Linked DNA regions of Homo sapiens: regions 1 and 2 are each linked to region 3. Evidence: promoter capture Hi-C in human tissues and cell types (Jung and others, 2019). All regions are on one chromosome and are shown on one strand. Each heading gives the region's core, a stretch centred on a gene start or on the middle of the fragment in contact. The rest is flanking DNA. Distances are from core to core; before and after follow the strand shown.

Region 1 (3,163 bases), core at 116-2,615, 48 kb after region 3:
GTTTCTCCAGGTCTCACAGTGAGGAAGGGTGGAGCAGGGAATGGAGTGTAAGCCACACTGGCCCTGGCGACTCACCTTTGGTTCTGCTGGAGCTTTTCAGTTCTAATGTACCAGCCACGGAAATTGCCTGCAGGTTGGGGAGCAAAGGGTTAGGACACCCCAACGCTGGAGGACCCTCCCCACCCTCAGCAACCTGGCCCTCCAAGCACTTACCCAGAGTTTCCAGGGGTCGCTGGGTGGGACCAGTAGGGGGTGCTGGCTCATAAATGTTGATGCCTGAAATGGACAGGTGAGTGGAGCCTCTGGGCAGCCCCTCCATCTTCCACCGCCTCACCCCTCCCTACCCGCAGGGCTATACACTGGAAGGGCAGGAATCTGTGCCAGGTCAGGGAAGCCCGGCAGGGATGAGTGAGTCAGGGCTCTGGGCTGGGGAGAGGGCAATGCCAGGGGTAAGTGGGGTGTGGTGAGACAGACAGAGACAGAGGGACAGAGAGAAGAACCCAGAGAAAGAGACAGGCCAAGAGTTTGAAACCAGCCCAGCCTGGCCAACATGACGAAACCCTGTGTCTACTAAAAATACAAAAATTAGCCAGGCATGGTGGTGCATGCCTGTAATCCCAGCTACTCGGGAGACTGAGGCAGGAGAATTGCCTGAGCCTGGGAGGCGGAGGTTGCAGTGAGCTGAGATTGCACCACTGCATTCCAGCCTGGGCGACAGCAAGACTCCGTCTCAAGAGACAGAAACATAGGCAGAGGGGGAGAGAGAGAGGAGGAGAGAGAAAGAGAGATGGAGAGGTGTGAGGGAGAGGTGTGAGAGAGGTAGGTAAGAGACATGACAGAGAGACAGGTGGTAAAATGGAGAGGCACAATGACAGAAAAAGAGACAGAGGGATGCAGAGAAATGCATAGACAGAGAGAGACAAAGAGGTAGAGAGATAAGGAAACAGGGAAAGAGGAAGAGACAGACGGTCAGGGTGGTGCCTCCTGGCTGCTCTGGGCCCTTGCGCACCTTCGGGGTTGGGCGAGCGCAGCAGGTTGCGGTAGAGCGGCCGCCGCAACAGGAGCAGCTTCCAGGTGAGGCGCTGGGGCAGCTCCAGGCCCCCGCTCAGCGGCCCCCACTCCTCCAGCAGCAGCTGCCGGGCGTGAGCCTCGGACGGCTGCGCCGGCTCGGGGAGCTCGGGGGCCTCCGGGGCTGCGGGCGATGGCAGCGACGGCGGCGAGGGCAGTGGTGGCGGCGACGGCGGCGGTGAAGGCGACCGTGGCGAGGGAGGCAGCTCCTGGAGGCTCGCGGGCCCATCGGCTTCCATCCCGCCACCGAGCGCGTGTCCCTCACGCACCTCCTCCATCCCTCGAGGCTGCGCGACTGTCCCGGTTTCACAGGGCTGGGGTTAACTGGGAGCGGGAAGGGGCAGGGCACCCTGGCTGACATTTAAGAGAGGGGCGTGTCGGGGGAGGATCTTGTCCCTCGGACCCTCCTCCCTCAGACCCAGGAGTCCAGGCCCCTAGCCCCTCCTCCCTCAGACCCAGGAATTCAAGACCCCAGCCCCTCCTCCCTCAGACCCAGGAGTCCAGGCCCCTAGCCCCTCCTCCCTCAGACCCAGGAATTCAAGACCCCAGCCCCTCCTCCCTCAGACCCAGGAGTCCAGGCACCAGCCCCTCTTCCCGCAGACCCAGGAATCCAGGCCCCCAGTCCGTCCTCCCTCAGATCCAGGAGTCCAGGCACCAGCCCCTCCTTCTTCAGACCCAGAAGTCCAGGCACCAGCCCCCTCCTTAGGTCCCCAGACTTCCTGCCCCAATTTTCCCAGGGCCAGCTGAGGACCCAGCGTGAGCCTGACAGAGCGTGTGACTAATGTGCTAATGCCAGGGCTCCGGGCTGTCTAATGGGACCCGTGCACCTCATTAAGATCCAGCATGGCAGGATTAAGAGGCTAATTAACGAAGACCCCCCTCCTCCCCCTCCCCACTCTGCAGAGGGGGAGTGGATGGATGAGCTGAGGTGCAAAGGGAAGGTCCTGCCTCTGCCACTTCCTTCTCTGTCCTCACCTGGGACACCCCCTTGGGGCCCTGACACATACTGTCCAGAAAACCAAGGTGAGGAGAGCAGAGAGACACCCAAAACCAGAGATGAGGAGCCTCAGAGATGGGGGACCCCAGGGAGGCACAAAGATGGCAGTGAGAGGGAAGCAGTGATCCCAACTGGGTGTTCTGGGGGCCTGCACCCCTGCCTGGGACTGGGGTGGGGGGCTGCAGAAGCCTCCCCCATCAGAGGTCACGAGGAGGTGGGAGCAAGGGACGGGGCACAGGTGGGGACAGGAGGTCAGGTGTGGAGGAAGTGGGGTGGCAGAGGAACCTGTAGCGCCAGATTCCCACAGCCACTTCCTGCCCGTGGCCACATCCCTCTACCTGGCCCAGGTAAGCTCAGCACTGAGCGCTTGCTTCTCTCTCTCTCTCTCTCTCTGATGGAGTCTCACTCTGTCACCCAGGCTGAAGTGCAGAAGCACGATCTCAGCTCACTGCAACCTCCGCCTCCCGGGTTGAAGTGATTCTCCTGCCTCAGCCTCCCGAGTAGCTGGGATTACAGGCATGTGCCACCACACCCAGCTAATTTTGTAGTTTTAGAAGAGACGAGGTTTCACCCTCTTGATCAGACTGGTCTCAAACTCCTGACCTCAAGTGATCCACCTGCCTTGGCCTCCCAAAGTGCTGGGATTACAGGCGTGAGTGCTTTCTACTGAGCGCCTCTAAGTTCATTTCATTCTCCTACAAAGACAAGGTGGGTGCTACTATGACTGGCATTTTATAGGTAAAGGAAAAGTAACAGCAAACATGTGTGTGCAGCTGTGTGCTGGCGGATGCCCTCTGGGACGGGTCTTTCCAATACAACAACCCTGTGAGGGGTGCCATGGAAACAGAAGCTGCCTTCCCAGGCTGGGTCCCATATAGTCCCAGATAACTCCACATGCTTTCACAGGCACTTCCTGCCCCAACGCTCAGACACTCACAGACACTCAGCGGGTGGGGGACAGAAGTCACGCCCCAGTGATAATGATCATGTAATTGAGGCTGCCCTCATGCCAGGCATTGCACTAAGTCCATTAGTTGCAATGGACTTAGGTAATTAATTAGGCAATTAATTCAGTCTCCACATCCACCCTAGGAAGTA
Region 2 (2,840 bases), core at 216-2,715, 44 kb before region 3:
AATTTTTATTTATTTGCTTTTTAAGATATGGGTGAAATCTCACTTTGTTGCTCAGGCTGGCCTCAAACTCCTGGCCTCAAATAATCGTCCCTCTTTGGCTTTCCGAGTAGCTGGGATTACAGGTGTAAGCCACCATGCCTGGCTCTCTGACAATAATTTTAAAGTAATTGTCATAAAAATGCTTCAACAAACAATCATGAATACTTTTGACACAATTTTTTTTTTTTTTTGAGACAGAGTCTTGCTCTGTCGCCCAGGCTGGAGTGCAGTGGCTGCAAGCTCCACCTCCCGTGTTCATGCCATTCTCCTGCCTCAGCCTCCTGAGTAGCTGGGACTACAGGCACCTGCCACCACGCCTGGCTAATTTTTTGTATTTTTAGTAGTAGAGACGGGGTTTCACCGTGTTAGCCAAGATGGTCTCGATCTCCTGACCTCGTGATCCACTCACTTCAGCCTCCCAAAGTGCTGGGATTACAGGAGTGAGCCTCTGCACCTGGCTGACACAAAAATTTTTAATAGAAAGTTTCATCAAAGAAATAGAAGGTATAAAGAATTGAGTGGAAATTTTAGAACAGAGAAATATAAGAACTGAAAAATACAAGAACTGAAGTAAAACTCACTGAAAGGGCCAAATAGCAGAATGGAGATGGCAGAAGAAAGAATCAGAAAACTTGAAGATAGGTCAATAGAAATTACTCATTCTGAACAACAGAGAGTAAGTAGCAAATAGATTGAAGTATGAACAAAGGATAGAAAGTAGATTTTTAAAAATGAAAAGAACTCCAGGGAGGTGGAGGTTAAAGCAAGCCAATATCGCACCACTGCACTCCAGCCTGGGGGACAATGTGAGACCCTGTCTCTAAAAAAAGAGAAAAGAAAAGAGCTCCAGGGACCTTTAGTACATTAAGTTTTAACACTCACATCACTGATGTTCTGGATGAACAGAAAGAAAGTGGGGACGGGCATGGTGGCTCATGCCTATGATTTCAGCACTTGGGGGAGCCAAGGTGGGTGTATTGTTTAAGCTCAGGAATTTGAGACCAGCCTAGGCAACATGGCGAAACCCTATCTCTACCAAAAATACAAAAATTAGCCAGGCGTGGTGGCAGGTGCTTGTGGTCCCATGGTCCCAGCTGCTTGGGAGGCTGAGGTGGGAGGACCACCTGAGACAGGGAGATGAGGCTGCGGTGAGCTGTGACTGCACTCCAAATGGGGTGATGGAGCGAGACTTTGTTCCCCCACCACAAAATAAAGATACCTATATATTTATAAATCAGGGAGGATAAAGGGACCTAAATTGTGATGTTTCCTACATTCCATTTGAAGAGATAAAATATTAATACTATTGCATTGTGATGTTATATATATACTGTAATTCCAGAGCAACCACTAAAAAACTATATAAAGAGATATACTAAAAAAAAAAAAACTATAGATAAAGCTAAATGAAACACTAAAAAAAAGCTTAGTAATCCACAGGAGGGCAATGAAAAGGAAACAAGAATAAAAAACAGAAGGAACAGAAGAAAAATAAGATGGGAGACTTAAGTTCTAATATATCTGTAATTACATTAAATGCAAATGGTTTATATACAGAGATTGGCAGAATATATTTTAAAAAACTGTATGCTGTCTACAGGAAACTCATTTCAAATATAATGACATAGGTAGGTTAAAAGTAAATGGATGGAGGCCAGGCGTGATGGCTCACACTTTAATCTCAGCATTTGGGAGGCTGAGGTGGGTGGCTCACTTGAGGTCAGGAGTTTGAGACCAGCCTGGCTAACATGGTGAAACCTCACCTCTATCAAAAATACAAAAGTTAGGCTGGGCAGGGTGGCTCATGCCTGTAATCGCAGCACTTTGGGAGACTGAGGAGGGCTGATCACCTGAGGTCAGGGGTTCCAGACCACCCTGGCCAACATGGCGAAACCCTGTCTCTACTAAAAGTACAAAAAATTAGCCAGGTGTGGTGGCAGGAATCTGTAATCCCAGCTACTTGGGAGCCAGAGGCAGGGAGAATTGCTCGAACCTGGGAAGTGAAGGTTGCAGTGAGTCAAGATTGTGCCACTGCACTCCAGCCTGGGCGATAGAGTGAGACTTCATCTCAAAAAAAAAAAAAAAAAAAATAGCCAAAATGAATGAGGACAAAAATACAACATATAAAAACTCGTGGTTGGACATAGTGGCTCATGCCTGTAATCTCAACAATTTGGGAGGCTGAAGTAGGAGGATCATTTGAGCCCAGGAGTTCAAGACCAGCCTGGGCAACATAGGGAGACACGGTCCTACAAAAAATTTAAAAATTAGCTGGGTGTGGTGGTGTGCACCTGTAGTTCCAGCTACTTGGGAGGCTGAGGAGGGAGGATCACTTGAGCCCAGGAGGTTGAGGCTGCAGTGAGCAGTGATAGCACCACTGCACTCCAGCCTGGGTGACACAATGAGACCCTGTCTCAAAAAAAAAAAACAGGAAGAAACCTCCCCCAAAACTTGTGGGATACAACTAAAGCAGTCTTAGAGAGAAGTTTATAGCACTTAATGCTTATATTAAAAATGAAGAAATGGCCAGATGTGGTGGCTCAAGCCTGTAATCCCAGCACTTTGGGAGGCTGAGGTGGGTGAATCATTTGATGGAAGTTCAAGACCAGCCTGGCCAACATGGTGAAACCTTGTCTCTACTAAAAATACAAAAATTAGCCAGGTGTGGTGGTGCACACTTGTAACCCCAGCTACTTGGGAGGCTGAGGCACAAAAATCGCTTGAACCTGGAAGGCAGAGGTTGCAGTGAGCCGAGATGGCACCACTGCACTCTAGCCTGGATGACAGAGCGAGACTCTGTC
Region 3 (2,885 bases), core at 210-2,709:
GACTCAGGTGGCCTGAGTTTCAGTTCTGACCCTGCCAGTTAATTACAGTGGAATTCAGGGCAAATTACTTTTCTGAGCCTCTGTTTCCTCACCTATAGGATGGGTTAGCATACTTGCCTTGTGGAGGAGTAGTGTCCGTTGAGATCACGTTTTAAACTCTCCAGCTGAGGTCCTAGTATGGTCTTAATGAGTGGATTCTATTAAATAATCACTCACATAAATACACAAACAATTGTGTTATTAATTTTTTCTCCAAATCTGTGCATTAGCAATCTGCGTTGCTGAATGCACCCCTCCTTGCCAAGGTCACACGGCTAGTGAGGGTCAGAACCAGGTTTGAACCCCAGACCCTTCATCTCCAAGACCCATGCTCTTCACCACTGCCTGAACTTCCCTAAGAAAGACGGCACCCACGTGGTGTCCTTCAAGTCCTTCGTCACACCTCAATTCTTGAGCAGAGCCTCATATTCCTGAGTCCTTCCTTGCCTGGGCAATTAAGAAATATTGGCCTCTGGGCATGGTGGCTCACACTGAAATCCCAGCAATTTGGGAGGCCTAGACAGAGAGATGACTTGACATCAGGAATTTGAGACCAGCCTTGCCAACATGGTGAAACGCCATCTCTACTAAAAATATAAAAATTAGCTGGGAATGGTGGCACAAATCTGTAATCTCAGCTACTTGGGAGGCTAAGGCAAGAGAATTGCTTGAACCCAGGAGGCGGAGGTTGCAGTTAGCCAAGATTTTGCACTGCACTCCAGCCTGGGTGACCGAACAAGACCCTGTCTCAAAATATATATATATATATATATATATATATGCCAGGAGTGGTGGCTCAGGCCTGTAATCTCAGCACTTTAATAGGCTGGGTGAGGAGGATGGCTTGAGCCCAGGAGTTTGAGGCTGCAGTGAGCTGTGATCATGCCATTGCACTGCAGTGACAGAGTGAGACCCTGTCTTAAACAACAACAAAACCAGAGCAGGTGGAATCCTCTTGGGAACATACCTTCCTGTAGGTTACCCCTGAGTCTCCATCAGTTTCTCTTTCCCTCCAGCTGCTCATCTGGCTCACTAGCCCTGCCCTGCTCTGGGCTTTCCCAGCCTGGGGCTCCCCTGGTGGCCGGTGTCTTACCTGAGGCTGTGTTTTCACTTTTCCTACATCAGCTGGGACTGCCCTTCTGTCAGGGATAAAAGCTGCCCCATGGAGCTCAGGCAGGAATTACATCCCAGACAGAGCTCAAAACTGACAGAAAGAGTCAAAGCCAGGACACAGTCTGAGATCCAGAAGAGGGGACTGAAAAGAACAGAGACTCCAGACAAGACCCAAACAGACCCTGGGTGACAGCCTCAGAGTGTTTCTTCTGCTGACAAAGACCAGAGATCAGGAATGAAACTAGGTGAGTCCCACATCTCTGTCCGTGCTCAGCTCCTGCAGCCCCTGCCCTCAGTGGGCAGCCTCTGCATTCCCTCAGCTCCCTTTCTCTCTGTGACACAGACATGACCGGGGACTGCATGCCAGTGCTGGTGCTGATGGCCGCAGTGCTGACCGTGACTGGAGCAGTTCCTGTCGCCAGGCTCCGCGGGGCTCTCCCGGATGCAAGGGGCTGCCACATAGCCCAGTTCAAGTCCCTGTCTCCACAGGAGCTGCAGGCCTTTAAGAGGGCCAAAGATGCCTTAGTGAGTCTCCCCCTGCCCTCCTGCCATGGACTAGCCTCCACCCGCACTCCAAGGGTCACCATGCTTTCCCACTCCCAGCTTCCTTCACTGGGCTAGCCTCCACCCTCCCTGCAGTGGGCTATCTCATGCTCCTACTGCAGGGACTGACTCATGTTTTCCTGAAGAAGAGGGTCCTCTACCATCCTCCCAGCAGTTAACCTCCCCTATCCTGTTGTCAGCCATCCTCCAATCCCATCAGAGTGGTCTAACCTCCACCCCTCCTGCTGGGGCTAACCTGTGCCTTTGCTGTCTAGGAAGAGTCGCTTCTGCTGAAGGACTGCAAGTGCCGCTCCCGCCTCTTCCCCAGGACCTGGGACCTGAGGCAGCTGCAGGTGAGAGGGGGAGTCAGGCCCACCCCTGCCCTCCCAGCCCTGCTCACCTGGCTCTGTAGTGGCCCCTTCACCTTCTCCTTCTCCATTGTCCCTCTCTCCTCTCCCCACACCTGCTACCCCTTCCCTCTGCTCCTACCTGACCACACTGGCTGTGCCCTCTCCCCTGTGCCTGTCACCTTCACTTGTTCCTCTCTATCCTCCTCCCCCAACCTGTTCCCCTCACCTCCCCCCTCACCTGCTCTTTCTCACCTCTCCTCAGGTGAGGGAGCGCCCCGTGGCTTTGGAGGCTGAGCTGGCCCTGACGCTGAAGGTTCTGGAGGCCACCGCTGACACTGACCCAGCCCTGGGGGATGTCTTGGACCAGCCCCTTCACACCCTGCACCATATCCTCTCCCAGCTCCGGGCCTGTGTGAGTCGTCAGGGCCCGGGCACCCAGGTCTGTGAGCTCTGAGCAGCGTCCTTCCCCTGGCCAAGGCCCCGGCTCACACACCGCCCTCCTCTGCCCACAGATCCAGCCTCAGCCCACGGCAGGGCCCAGGACCCGGGGCCGCCTCCACCATTGGCTGCACCGGCTCCAGGAGGCCCCAAAAAAGGTGAGTGACCCGGGAAGAGAGGGACTGAGGTCTGGGGAGCCACTGGGAGCCCAGAACCCAGACAGCCCCTGACCCATCCCCTCCTCCCTACAGGAGTCCCCTGGCTGCCTCGAGGCCTCTGTCACCTTCAACCTCTTCCGCCTCCTCACGCGAGACCTGAATTGTGTTGCCAGCGGGGACCTGTGTGTCTGACCCTTCCGCCAGTCATGCAACCTGAGATTTTATTTATAAATTAGCCACTTGG

Evidence for each region. Contacts are between HindIII fragments. The study calls those that stand out against the background at their distance.
Region 1: a contact is called between the fragment with the promoter of NCCRP1 here and the fragment with the promoter of IFNL3 in region 3, in 2 of the 25 tissues and cell types used here (lymphoblastoid cells and spleen).
Region 2: a fragment that was not itself captured here is called in contact with the fragment with the promoter of IFNL3 in region 3 in 7 of the 25 tissues and cell types used here (IMR-90 fibroblasts, dorsolateral prefrontal cortex, lymphoblastoid cells and 4 more).

What each region holds. Positions count from the first base shown.
Region 1 is chr19:39,195,166-39,198,328 of GRCh38, reverse strand. It overlaps NCCRP1 (NCCRP1, F-box associated domain containing), which reads right to left and starts at 1,365. Exons shown (of 6, transcript NM_001001414.2): 1 at 1,010-1,365; 2 at 214-276; 3 at 76-127. The coding sequence starts at 1,346. The HindIII fragment of the contact is 43,248 bases long and covers 1-3,163 here.
Region 2 is chr19:39,288,024-39,290,863 of GRCh38, reverse strand. No RefSeq gene overlaps it. Among named protein-coding and RNA genes, the nearest start is that of IFNL1, 7.0 kb to the left of the region's middle. The HindIII fragment of the contact is 5,296 bases long and covers 1-2,840 here.
Region 3 is chr19:39,243,580-39,246,464 of GRCh38, reverse strand. IFNL3 (interferon lambda 3) reads left to right here and starts at 1,459. Exons shown (of 5, transcript NM_172139.4): 1 at 1,459-1,677; 2 at 1,971-2,048; 3 at 2,308-2,457; 4 at 2,558-2,641; 5 at 2,735-2,885. The coding sequence starts at 1,498. The coding sequence ends at 2,833. It also overlaps the pseudogene IFNL4. The HindIII fragment of the contact is 34,684 bases long and covers 1-2,885 here.